Regions from separate parts of the Homo sapiens genome. Here region 1 is linked to region 2. The links are contacts of gene promoters, found by promoter capture Hi-C in blood cells and fetal thymus (Javierre and others, 2016). All regions are on one chromosome and are shown on one strand. Each heading gives the region's core, a stretch centred on a gene start or on the middle of the fragment in contact. The rest is flanking DNA. Distances are from core to core; before and after follow the strand shown.

The links. The method cuts DNA at HindIII sites, captures the fragments that hold promoters and counts their contacts. A CHiCAGO score of 5 or more calls a contact.
Region 1: a contact is called between a fragment that was not itself captured here and the fragment with the promoter of SMIM30 in region 2, in 1 of 17 cell types (neutrophils). The highest score is 6.0, in neutrophils.

The regions. Positions count from the first base shown.
Region 1 is chr7:111,724,650-111,731,603 of GRCh38, reverse strand. It overlaps DOCK4 (dedicator of cytokinesis 4), which reads left to right. Exons shown (of 53, transcript NM_001363540.2): 53 at 2,884-5,494. The coding sequence ends at 3,330. Among named protein-coding and RNA genes, the nearest start is that of DOCK4-AS1, 80 kb to the left of the region's middle. The HindIII fragment of the contact is 1,374 bases long and covers 3,856-5,229 here.
Region 2 is chr7:113,112,960-113,119,957 of GRCh38, reverse strand. It overlaps SMIM30 (small integral membrane protein 30), which reads left to right and starts at 1,404. Exons shown (of 3, transcript NM_001352688.2): 1 at 1,404-1,430; 2 at 1,797-1,890; 3 at 2,351-3,240. The coding sequence starts at 2,380. The coding sequence ends at 2,559. All of the region lies in intron 2 of LOC107986837, which reads right to left. RefSeq lists enhancers at 1,005-1,144, 1,039-1,633. The HindIII fragment of the contact is 11,880 bases long and covers 1-6,998 here.

The DNA of each region.
Region 1 (6,954 bases), core at 3,293-5,792, 1.4 Mb after region 2:
TTTAACATCTTTAAACATAAAAAATCCCTCATGAAGATAAAGAATAATATTTAGTCTTATCCAAATTGAATCAGACCGGCTTCAAGGATTGTCAGTACGTGAGAGATTGGTGTTCAGAACTGCTGCACCAGAGGCAAATATGAAGTGTGTCGAAAGAATGATTTTGTACCTGAGTGACTTAGGATTTACACGCTCCATGTCCTTTGTGTGATGAGCTAGTTCTAGCTAATGTGCAAAAGACAAATTAGCCTCTACAAACACATAGGGGCAGGTTGCGATCCAGTGCATCTGTGGTGCTAACGATAGTTGCTGATAGAAATTGAGAAACGGGAAAACAACCCGCCTCCCCCCGCAAAATGGAGAAAATTGAAAGAAGTGTGATTCCCTTGCATTGCCAGAATTTCTGACGTAGAAATTCGCGGGTAAGTGCAAGTGATTTGCTCGTTTTGTTCTCATTCTGTAATGCAGCTGTTATTATGAAGTACCTGTGACAGCATTCACTCTGGAAGTCATAGCCTGTCACCTCGATGTGATAGAAAGGAAAGCAACATGGCTTTTCCGCACTTTTACATTTGCCCTTACTCACACAGAGCTCCCACACGTTGCTATGGAATTATCATCTGTATTTTTCAACTTAAATTTTGTTGGGTAGTAAGAAAATAAGTCTTAAGAGATTAATTCTTAAACATTAAAAAGAACCCAAGAGCTAAAAATGTTTGAATAGCTATAAAATAGTCTTAGCAAGCTGGTATATACTGTCTCTCAGCAGACCTGTGTACATTTTTACTGGCCATATGCAGTTCGAAGCCATGTCTTTATATGTAGGGTTTGAAGGAAGAGAACATAGATCGAACATTTGTGTTATACCTCCTGGGTTACATTAGGGGGCACACTGCTACCATGTTACTAGCCTTGCAGTGTGCTGCCTTAACTGATAAGAGTTTAGTGGGGTTTTGGGTTTTTTTTTTACCCCAGCCAGCCATCAAACTGTGGGTCTAACCCTACAGCGAAGACTGAGCTGACCTGCCATATTTTGAATTTCAGGTCTAACTTTTGACAGAGGTAGCAGTGAATTGGGAACTCTTAATTGGCCTTAATGTTAGGCTCCTACTAAATGACAGGATGTGTATCTACCAGCGTTATTTTGTTTACAAAGAGAAACCAAAGTCAAGTTAGCTTAAGAAGATAGCATTTCTCAAAGTGTATACCATAGAACACTAGTTTTCCAGGACATTATGTAATAAGCGGGGGAGAAAAGGTCTATAGTCAAGTAAGTTTGGAAAACACTGGACTGAACAAAATTATTTGTATTCCTTTATTCTAAGCCTTGAAAATGCGAATATGTTTTGAATATACACAAGGAGTATACAGTGTGCAGCATTTCCCAGCGGAACCCTCTTTTCACAGAGCATCTATCTTAGGACTCGTTTTCCTTGGGATACTAGTTGGGAAAGTAACAAACTCAGATGCCAAATGGGGCCAGACAGCTGACACAAATGAAGGAGGCCGGGTGTAGTCCCCACGTGGCATAGTGGGGACTGGCAAAGTGAAAAGGGACAGCCCTTCTCAGCTTTTAAAGATTATCTCTATTAAGAGAATGTGTGCCATTGTGGCCAGAACTCCTAGTTCTTTATGAACTGCCAGAATTCTGGAGTTTCATGTGAAATTTGAAATGTTAAAAATTAACTAAATTAGGTTTTTAAAAAACTGCTGAGGAAACAGCTCACATCACAGGCTACAGCCCCGAGGGCTGCCAGTTCGCCAGTTCAGCTCAGGAGTCTGGAGTCTGGAGTGATGGCTGGAGAAATCAGGTGCAGAACCTCGGGTGCCTCTGCTCCTCCTCCTGAGCTCTCTGGGTCTTCTGAGCTGAGTGTGCTCAGCGGCCCTGGCTCCTGGCCTGCAGCATGCCCTGCTGAGCTGGGAAAGTGAATAGCGCCCCCAAAGGTTTTATGGCGTTTTTAGGTTTTTGGGGTTTTTGGCCAGTTCCCTCTCTTCCAAACTATAGGACTAATGTGTGCCTCCAGATTATCTTGGTGGATACCTTTATTTATTTTTTGAGACAGGGTCTCATTGTGTTGCCCAGGCTGGAGTGCACTGGTGGCTCCACGGCTCACTGCAGTCTCAACCTCCCAAGGTTCAGGTGATCCTCCCAGAGGAACTGGGATTACAGGCATGAGCCACCACGCCCAGCTAACCCTTTGGATTTTTAGTAGAAATGGGGTTTTGCCATGTTGCCCAGGCTGGTCTCAAGCTCCTGGCCTCAAGTGATCCCTGCATCGGCCTTCTAAAGTATTGGGATTACAGGCGTGAGCCACCATGCCCAGCTCCTTTCTCCTCTATCTGAAAATGATAAGGAGTAAACTGGGCGGTGAACTGAACTCGAGGACTGGTGGCCCTCGCAGATAAACGTCTGGTGTGCATTTTCAGTGCTACAAAGGACAACACTCAAATTTGAGTGTGAGTGTATTCGTCTGCTCGGGCTTCCCTCACAAAATACCACAAACTGGGTGGCTTAGACACTGGGAATGTATTTTCTCAATTCTGGCAGGTAGAAGTCCAGGATCAATGCGTGGCAGCCTTGGTTTCCCCGAGGCCTCCCTCCTGGGCTTGCAGACCGCCCTTCCTGCAAGGTCTGTGTGTGTCGCATTCCTGACGTCTCCCTGTGTGTCCAAATGTCTCTTATAAGGACACCAGTCAGCTTGGATTAGGATCCACCATAATGGCCTTTTACCTTAATCACCTCCTTAAAGGCTGCATCTCCTGCTGCAGCCGGCTTTGGGGGTGCTGGGGGCCGGGGCCTCCGCGTCGGGGCGTACATTTCAGCGCATCTGCGTTCACGACTCAATGCTGTGTCTCCCTCTCGTTTCCTTCTCCCCGGAGCAGGGCTCTGTGCAGTCTTTCACCCCCTCTCCAGTGGAGTACCACTCGCCAGGACTCATCTCCAACTCCCCTGTCTTGTCGGGCAGCTACAGCAGTGGGATTTCTTCTCTCAGCCGGTGCAGCACGTCGGAAACCTCAGGCTTTGAAAATCAGGTGAATGAACAGTCGGCCCCCCTGCCGGTGCCAGTGCCGGTGCCCGTGCCGAGCTACGGCGGGGAGGAGCCAGTGCGCAAGGAGAGCAAGACTCCGCCCCCGTACAGCGTCTACGAGCGGACTCTGCGGCGCCCCGTCCCGCTACCTCACAGCCTCTCCATCCCCGTCACGTCGGAGCCGCCCGCGCTGCCCCCCAAGCCTCTGGCAGCGCGATCCAGCCACCTGGAGAATGGGGCCCGGAGGACTGACCCCGGCCCGCGGCCCAGGCCCCTGCCCCGCAAGGTCTCTCAGTTATAAGTCACTTTTCTATGTACCTGCGATGCATTCTTTGCCCGTTTACAAAATAAGAAGTATGATGAGAAGACATTTAGTGTAGGCACTTTAATAACTTACTCAGCTCCTTCGATGAATGGAATTAAAACTTGCTTATTAAATATCATGTTGCACAATATTAAAAGTTGCTGATCTAAAACGCCAGATGTTAAATGAAGTATGGCTGAATTTCATTAAAACGTTTCTCATTTGGAAGTGGTAAATAGTGATAAAGACTCCTTTTGTACCTTTTTATGTTCACTTTTTTTTATATAGTTTAATCTTAAAACCAATACGATATTGTCAAACGATACAATGTGTGACAATGTTGTATCGTTTTTACTGAATACTTGATACTTGGAGAAAGCTTATTAAGTCAGTGCACATCCTAACACAGTGGTCCTTATTTTAGAAGACTTCTGTAAATAAGGCAAGGTTTATCAGTGCAGATCATCAGAATTAAAGTTCAAGCAGGCGAGCAAGACAGTATACTTAAGGGGTTGCAAAGCTTGGGACTGGAAATTGTTTTGTTCTTGAAACAAAATACTTCTTTAAGGTTGCTTTTGCTGTTTGACTGCTGTCTACATTCGTAAAATTCTATTTTGTGAATTGGTAGCTAAATCCCTTACTACCCTGACACCGTGGTATCTACTGTATTTCTTTTCAAGGTGCAATTTGCTTCAGAGTTCCAATCAGCTAGATTAAGCAAGAGGCTCCAGAAGAAATGTTTACTTGAATTTTGCGCTTCCTTTCTTGATAGTTTCCTATATAAAATTTGTCATTGAACAAGAGCAAATGCTGAAGTATTAATGAGGCACAAATGACTGTGCCCCATTAGCAAGAATTCAGGAATCAATACAGACAGTATTAAATTAATAGCTTAAGTGAAGAAAAAAAAAACTTAGTGAAAATGTATTAGCACGATTAAATGGCAAAAGGACTTATAAAAGGCAAGGGCATTAACTTTCAGTCCTGCACAAAATAAAAAATTCCTCACGACTCTCCACTTTTACCAGTGGAGTTTGTCTTAGCTGACCTGTCGTCTTTCTCTTGAAGGAGGATTGCTGTAGACTTCTCTAGCTTGAATATTGCAACATAGCATCTTAGGTCTAGATAGGGATGCTAATGCCAGTTGTAGAAGTGTGAAAAAAGCACCTTGTATGTAGTAATGTATTTTATATCTTTGTTTTTTCTTTTACTGACTGTTTATAACACTCAATTGACAATAGATATGAACTGTATTTTAAATCATACTGTTAAATATTTTCCCTCTTTTGTTGGGAAGCTCATTTTAGTTTAACCATGTTTGTTTTGTTGGTAGCTTACCTGGAAGGCAGTGACCACTTTTTTATATTCTCTTAATGAAACCATTCAGCAGGTATATGCTGTTGAGGCTGGTTATAGAGGTTTTCTATAATAAATGTTCAAGTATTTTTGTATATAACTGGTTAATTTTAATAAGAGATACCATTATGTGTAAAAAAAAGTAAAAATAAACGCAAACAGTTGTTGATGCAGTATGATTGTTATAATTATGCCAAATACTTTACGTATGGAAAAAGAATATTTGTACATATGTGCTTTTAACAATTCTGCCATATTGACTTTACAATTTTGAATGTCGGAAAAATTAATATATGTTAAATATTTATGTTTAGTGAAAGTGTTCATAATTGAGAAAAGGAACATATGCATTTTAGCTTTGTATCTTGCAAGTTTTGCAGTCAGAAATTTTTTGAACTAGCTTTTGCTTTTGATAACACTTCGTGTTTGTAACCACATTCATATATATATACATATATATGTGAAGCTCCATATTTCTGTTGCTTTAAAGAAGTAAAACCTTCCATTTAAATAAGATGACATGCATAAGATAACAAAGCTTCCTTGATTTCCTTTTCCTGTGTAATTTAATAGATTTGTTGACTAGTGCTTGGGCACATTATAAATCAGTGTTATTTGCTCTTGGAGCCATTTTTTAAAAAAAATTTTGGCAGTGAGCAGTTGAATTTATCTTGAATTTATCATGTGTGTGTATTTCTGAAGCAGCTACATAGCAGAACATTTTAAGAGATTCTGTTAGCCCACATGTTCATGTTGGTTGCTGCTGAATGGTAAATATTAAATAAAATTACCAGATTAATCTTAATATTTCTGTCTTTACTCCTATCATCAGCATGTCTTTACTTGTAATAGAAGCGGCTCTTGATCTTATTATAGTGAGATTTCCAGACTTCTTTTTAGATAGATCCTGTTTGTGTTGTCCTGCCACGTAGATGCATTTCACACTCACTACGGCTCACTTATGCCATAGGGAACAATCACCAGAAAGGTAACAAACAGTATGGGTTAATATCCCATAGAAAGGGTAACATTTACGTGGTTGGCTGACCATTCATTGGCCTAACCAGAGCCAACTTAACAAGTCAAACCATCAAAATGTGTTTGCATCAGAAAACTTGACATAAAACAGATAACTTCCAAGCATATAAGGGCATGGTTAAATGCTGGTTTTGACAGCTGTGGTAAAAATCTATCTGCATGCCAACTCTTCTCCCTGGTTTTCATAAAATGATAGAAAATATACATGTGACATACACTGAAAAACCCACTGACTACAAGATTTCGATTAATAAAGCCTGGCTTTTAACTTGGTGAAATGTGTCAATATTGTATAAGGTTGAAGACATTTATGTAACTCAGTGCCAAGAAAACCACTGTCTACAGCTTCAGCCTCGTAGAATACAAAAATCCATTTAAAGGCCATTGTCAGCTGGGCGCAGTGGCTCATGCCTGTAATCCCAGCACTTTGGGAGGCTGAGGCTGTTGGATCACCTTAAGTCAGGAGTTCAAGACCAGCCTGACCAACATGGTGAAACCCCATCTCTACTAAAAATACAAAGATTAGCTGGGTGTGGTGGCGGGTGCCTGTAATCCCAGCTACTCGGGAGGCTGAGGCAGGAGAATCGCTTGAACCCAGGAGGCGGAGGTTGCAGTGAACTGAGATCATGCCACTGCACTCCAGCCTGGGTAACAGAGCAAGACTCTTGTCTCAAAAAAATTTTAAAAAAAAGGCCATTGTCAGTGTCCTCCTGATTGTTTCTCAACATTAACTAAGTGACTTCAGAATATTTTTGGGTTATTTATATTACAACTGAACCCATCAGTATTTGGATTCTACAAGCACAATTACAATAAGAAGAGCTCAGTTTCCTACATAAGTAGGTTTCTCCCTGGATTGTTACTAATTGTTCTACAAAACACAACAAAGAGAATAACAAGTTGCATAGCTTTGCCTCTGTTTTATCTGTACACATTGAAAGGTGGTTTGTACTGAAATGAATTCTTACTTATTAAGCCCAACCCTCATTATGTAAGAATACCATATTAATCCCCACACTTTGGGAGGCTGAGGTGGGCAGATCACAAGGTCAAGAGATCGAGACCATCCTGGCCAACATGGTGAAACCCCATCTCTACTAAAAATACAAAAATTAGGTGGGCATGGTGCACACGCCTGAGTCCTAGCTACTCAGGAGGCTGAAGCAGGAGAATTGCTTGAACCTGGGAGACGGAGGTTGAGTAAGCTGAGATCGTGCCACTGCACTC
Region 2 (6,998 bases), core at 155-2,654:
AACACATAAGGAAAAATAAACATGTAGGGAAAAACAAAATGTTCACAGTAGGATATGAGAGAATATTTTGGAAGCTATAAAAATATAACTCCTATTCCAAATATAATTGATTACAAAGGCACGAAAGTAGCTCAAAACAAAGGATGAAATGAACAAAACCTTGTTAAAATAATCAAGGTTAGAGAAACAATGCTGACGTTATTGTGCAGTTATTCTCAGATTTCCAATTTTCTAGTCACCTTGGTTTGGTTTATTTGGCACCTCTCGGTCTCTCATAAGATCTTGTTGGCATATTTATCTAGTCAAATCATTATTATTATTAGGCAACATTACTGAGCACCTGCTGGGTGCCGGTTAGGAGCCAAGAATATAAATCTTTGCTAGAGAGACTAGGAACGTGTAAGAAAAAGGGTAACCGACAACACAAGAATACATGCTAATTATTGGCATTGAACTGAACGTACCTGCATTATCTAACAGACTGAACCAGGGGACTTTCAGACCAGGCAGGTGGCTTCACACCCAACCCTCATCATTAATAATTTATAATGTAAGGATAGCAAATAAATTTTCAAATCAGTAAATATGAAAGAGTTCAGAAGATCAGATGACTAGAAAGGTTCAGTAAGGAGTTCACAATTAGCAGACAATTGAAAGAGCGCCTTTCAGAAAGGTTACGACTTACATATACAAATAACTAATTCTTGTTTTATGATTTAAAAGCAGTATTTTTACATCTTTTCACAAATATGTAGGGACATTTGGGGCTGAGGTTTCACAAAAACATAGGTGGGAAGGAATCACCGCAGTGCACTCCTGAATAGATTGTCACTTTAGGACCTGAATCCTGAGAGATCTTCTGCAACAGGGCTAAACCCATTTTTCCTAAACTTTATTTTGCACTACAAATGTTTTTTAACCTTTTACGATATGTCTTATTAACCGCGCTTTTTCCCCATTGACTAAAAAATTAATAAATGGCATATGTTTCATTAGGAAGATGGTGACAGAGATTTCCTGCTTCAGAAACGTTGGAAGCCACTGGTTTAAAAGCACCCGGAACAGAGGGCTGTACTTGGGTTCTCTCTCCCCGCTGTGTCATTTCAGTCGAAGAAAAAGACAAAATTACATGTGCGCCTTACAGACTCAACAGGGTAGAAAACACTTGCTATCATTTCTTTTATTTTGAAGTGAGCTTTTATATAAACACACGAAACCATCTATTTAATAGTAAAACGTTGGGCAGGGAAAGGAAGTCCCGCGCGTTCGCGACTCTTCGCCTCCGCTAGAGCGTGACCGTCACGCCCTCTGCTACTTATAGGGGGAACGCGCCGGGGCATCATAGGAGTCGGCGGCGGCAGGGATTGTGGGAAATGTAGTTTGGAGACTCCGCCCTCCTCGCCATTCCTGTAATGGCTGCTTCCTAGAAGGTAATGTACGAACTCGTCTCCAAAGGATACTTAGGTTGCACCAGTGTATTTGTAAAACAGGAGCAAATTTGGACCTTGCCGGGCCAAAGTACGAATTCTTTTTCAAATCTTAATATCAAGTCCTGAAATGAAATTATCTCTGTTCTGTTTCTTTTTACCTTTTCTTGTGTGGGTGAACTGACCAACTTTTAAGTCTAGTTCCCTGTTGGACAGACTTTTCTCAACTCATTACCTATCCCCCTACCGTCCATATGGCCTCCACGCTCTGCACTGACTCTAGCTGCCTCTTTAAAATAATAATAGTAATAATAATTAATTTTTAAATCCTTCTCTCCGCCCCCTCCCCACCCCCCATGCTAATAATAGGTCGTGTCACGTGGAACCTCTTAATCTCAGCATCCGGAGCTCCAGGAAGGGAAAATTTCAAGTCAGATAGAATTCTATATATACCATTTCTTTGGTAAGTCTTATTAATTCCCCACAACTTCGCAGAGTTATATGTTGTGTGACTTTTGCCAAATTTGTCTGCATTTCTTGGATGGGAGAGACCCTAAGAAAATGTACAATTTTTACCCACTAGGATATTTTAAGTTTCCAAGTTAGTGGCTCGTGCTTTTTTTCTGTTTGTTCTTAATTATGAACTCCTGTTCAATTTTTGTTTGGTTGATGCACGAGGTGTTGGCATTATCGTGGAAAATTCCTGGGTTTAGAGTGTTATCACGAGATAGGGAGATGAACCTCAAATTACTGTCTTTAACGTCCCTCTGTTTTTCCACCTATAAGATGAGGAGATGGATTGGAAATGATTCATAAAGTATCCAAAAGATTGGCTGGCCTGTTATTTGTCATGTGTTCATTTTGTCATTTGAAAAGGGAGGAATTTTTAATGGTTCCTTTTTGTTTCCATGTTTAATTTCTAGGAACCTTCAGCCCTCAAGATTCCAACATCATGACCTCAGTTTCAACACAGTTGTCCTTAGTCCTCATGTCACTGCTTTTGGTGCTGCCTGTTGTGGAAGCAGTAGAAGCCGGTGATGCAATCGCCCTTTTGTTAGGTGTGGTTCTCAGCATTACAGGCATTTGTGCCTGCTTGGGGGTATATGCACGAAAAAGAAATGGACAGATGTGACTTTGAAAGGCCTACTGAGTCAAACCTCACCCTGAAAACCTTTGCGCTTTAGAGGCTAAACCTGAGATTTGGTGTGTGAAAGGTTCCAAGAATCAGTAAATAAGGGAGTTTCACATTTTTCATTGTTTCCATGAAATGGCAACAAACATACATTTATAAATTGAAAAAAAAATGTTTTCTTTACAACAAATAATGCACAGAAAAATGCAGCCTATAATTTGCTAGTTAGGTAGTCAAAGAAGTAAGATGGCTGAAATTTACATAAGTAATATTTCATAATCTTAGAATTCTCTCAAAGCATGTGAAATAGGAAGAAGGAAGTTCTTGCCCAGAATCTTAGGAAATCACCACTGTTCGGTTATAATCACTGCCTCCTGAATCGTTGAGGAGTCTTTTAAATTAGATTTTTGTTTTGTTGTCTCCCAAGTTAATATTATATTTAGATATCAGAGAGTCAGGCAAAAAGGAAAACTTTTATCTCTAGGGAAAAAACATTTAGAAAAATGTATTCAGTGTATCTAATACTGAAATGCGGAAAAAAATTTAATGTTAAAAAAAAACTATAGACATTGACATGGAAAAGAGATTTAATGTTTTGAAAAAAAACTTTATATTAACTGAGTAACATCCTCCTGATGAGAAGTACTATATTAAATATAAACCCATTATGTTATAAGTTAATGTTTCGTGTCCATTTCTTATTTGGGGCTGTTTGTATCCATTGTGGATTTTTATATGAGCTAAGTGGAGAAGGGCAGGATGCCTTGTGTTAACTGATTGCGGTAGCTTGAAGAGACATAATGAGAACTGGGCAGCATTAAGGTCAGAGAAGCCCCTGATAGAAAATCTAGAAATATAGAAGGAAAATGAAATGGCTTAAACTGATTTGTACGCCAGCCAAACGAAATATCCTCTCTGGCCTAGCTACTTAAAGTGTCTTCAAGCCAGCAACATCACCTGGGGCTTGTTAGAAATGCAGAATCTCAGGCCCCACCCAGACCAATTGGATCAGGAACAGCATTCGTTTCCAAAGCCCAAGTTAATTTGTATGCACATTACAAATTTAAGAAGACTGCCAACTTGCTTGAGCCCAAGAATCATTCCAGGCACTTGATAAGACTTTTTGATTCCCTGGTCTTTCTCCTGGTTGTATAGCTGTGAGATGGGGCCTGGAACTCCATGTCTAACAAGGGTCCTCAGTGATTCATTTGATTCTCAAGTTGTAGCCAGCATAAAGTAGTCTAAGGAAATCAAACTTTAGGGTCACACTGGAGGTAAGTAGTGAAATTTTTTCCTAAAATGCATTTTCCAATCTGTAGCTCTCCAGATGACATTGGGAGCCTCATTTTTTATCCAAAAACAGGCACTAGCAACCTAAAGTCCTGTTTATGGTGTAATTCTAGAGTGAGCTGACTTGGCTTGCATGAAAGTTTTGGTTAAAGTGTACAAGGAGTGAAGAAGCATCACAGAATAAAGACATGGAAACTGAATGCACTTGTTTTTGTCACAGCTGTTTCGATTTTTTGCTAGAGGAAGCACTAACAGTCTTTATTCAAATTAATTGGCAGTTAAACATTTCATAATTAATATAGCTTGATTGTACCTGCATTTTTTTGTGTGTTTTAAAGAAGGAAAAAGGAATGATGCAAGTTATAGAACAATTGTCATCTCTTATACTCCAGCCCATTGGGTGCTGATGTAGAAAGGCTGCTGCGGCTTCCTTGCATGTCAACTTTTCCATTGGGATGGGAGAAATCAAACCTAAAGTACATTTTAAATCACAGTGCAGTAGTCACTTAGTCACCTCCAGGTACTGTTTTTAAAATGTTCAAAATAAGACTATAGGCAAACATTCTTTGGTCAACGTGTATTTCCAAAAGTGCCTAGAAAGAATTAGAAAACTGCCATTTCCCTATTTTCCCCTTAAAAGTAGAGAATTGTCTTGAGGTGGCATGCAGGAATTTTGATGGATATGATGGGGGAACACCTCCTCTAAAAATAGCCTCATTTCTCATCTATTTAGGTTGGATTATATGGCTTTGCCTGAAAAGAACAGAACCCTTATGGTGGCTCTTAACATTTTTAGGCCACCAGTTCCTTTGAGAATCTGATGAAAGCTATCATCTTTTTCTTTAGGAAAATTCCCATGCATGCTGACATTTTTAGATTAGTTTCAGAGCTGAAGCCCATCCAGGATCTTTCCAATTCTAAAATTCCTTGATTTTCTATGAGGGATAACACCTGCTGTGGAGCAGTTACAGCAAGAATGGCATTAGCAAATATTCTGATGCCCAGCACAATTTGTAGATATCTAGTAAATGCCTTGTGCATGTTAGCTCACTGAGTTGAGTTAAAAATAGTTGAGATCAAGTGAAGAATTTAAGGTCCTTGCAAATACTTATATTTCTGTTCTCTGTAGTTTTAATGTAACCAGCTTAGTTCTCTAATGCTAAAAATCAGTACATTTCCTGCATCATTTCTCTCTTAACTGCTTTCATAACTCTTCTTTGTCATTAATTTTTAGAAGTTTGTGATATATCTCGGCATGGATATATCTTTGGGTTTATCCTGTTTGGGGTTCACTCGGTATCTGAGACTTACAGTTTTATTCTTTTTTCCCAAATTCAGGAAATTTTCAGCCATTCTTTCTTTTTACAAAAATTTCGCTCCACTTTCATTCTCCTTTTCTTCTAGGACTCCAGGGACCCAATATTAGATATTTTTGTTATAGTCTGATGCATACCTAAGGCTCTATTTATTTTTTCAGTCCTTTTTTTCTCTTATTCAGATTGGGTAATTTCTAGTATTGTATGCTTAAGTTCACCGTTTCTGCTGTTGTATTTTTTGTTCAAAACTTTCCATTTTGTTCTTTGTGTCTTGTGTTTCTTTGTGGAGACCTGTTTTTTCATTTGTCTCAAGCATGTTTGTGATTGTCACTGAAGCACCTTTTCATGGCTGCTTAAATCCTTAATAATCCTAACATCTCTGTCACCTCGGTGTTTAGCATCTGTTGATTGTCTTCTCATTCAAGTTGAGATCTTCCCAGTTCTTAGTATGATGATGATTTTTCTATTGACATTTGGACATTCTGGGTATTATATTTAAAAGGCTGTGGCTCTTATTTAAATTTTGTATTTTAACATTCCTCTGACACCACTCCTTCGTAGAAAGGGAGGATGCCTCCTCCTTCCTGCCAGATGCAGGTGGAAGCCTCATGACTGCTCCTCCTATACCCTCCACTGACACTGGTGATAGGTTGCCTTGTTACCACCAGGTGGGAGTGGAGTCCAGGCTACCCACATGGTCTTCATGGGTACCAGCGTAGAAGAGGGAGGTTCTTACTATCAACTGGTGAGGATGAAAGTGCCAGCTCCCCACCCAGCCTTCTGTGATACCTCAGTGGGGAGCCTGGAACATCTACAGCCTGGTGAAAGTGGAGGTCTTGGCACTCCACTCAACCTTTGCTGATGGTGGAAGTGGGGCTACAATTCTAAAAGTTTTCTGTTTCACTAAGCTACACCTTTCCTATACCTTTAAATACTAGAGAGAATAGTCTTGTTTGGTTTCCCACCCCCCCACCCTTTTTTTTTTTCGGTCTAAGCCCGTTGGCCTTTCTGTGCTACCAACTTCTCCAGTTCTCAATCTGAAACAGGAAGAAAAAAAAAAAAAACCAGCTAACTCACCACTTTGTTGTTCCTTTGCTCTTGAGGTACCCAGCTGTTGTGCCTTCTTTCTGCCTTTCAGAATCCTATGTTTGTTTTATACATAATGTCCAGGGTTTTTAGCTATATTTAGTGGGAGGAAAAGGAAAAAAGATGTCTACTCCATCTTTCTAGAAGTATAAGTCTTGGTGCATATTTAAAGAGGGAATTTTCTGAGCTACTCCAGAGATGGAGAGATAAAACACCAGGAAAGTGATTACTTCAAGGTATTTTACTCACAGACTTTTGTCCCGTCATCTCCCACATCCACCTTCCCCTCTTCACCCATCCAGCATATTGTTTATTCCTACCTTAACCCAACAGTCTCAACTAGGGAGTGAGACTAACCATCAAGAAATGCAGGGACGTAGATGAAGTTTGAGAAAATGGGCTGTATTCATATTTTGTCTCAGCATTGAGACTGCAAGTGGGAGCTTCTTGAAAAACTGATGTGATACCAATTGTGCCAACTAGCCAGGTCCAGGAAATCTCAGAAGCTACACCTCACATGCACCTGTGTCCTGCTGGGCTTTCTAGCTCTGTACCAGCTTATCAAATGCCATTTCCAACCTTGGATATAGGAATGGTAATGCAGCTATATAGCCTGCAGCACATAATGAATGGAGGAGAATTTTCTGCATATGACCCATCTCCCAGCCAGCGACTCTCATAACAGTCTCTTCAGTGGTACTATAATAGAGGCTAAGGGTCCAAGCTGTGGAATTTAACAGACGTCTC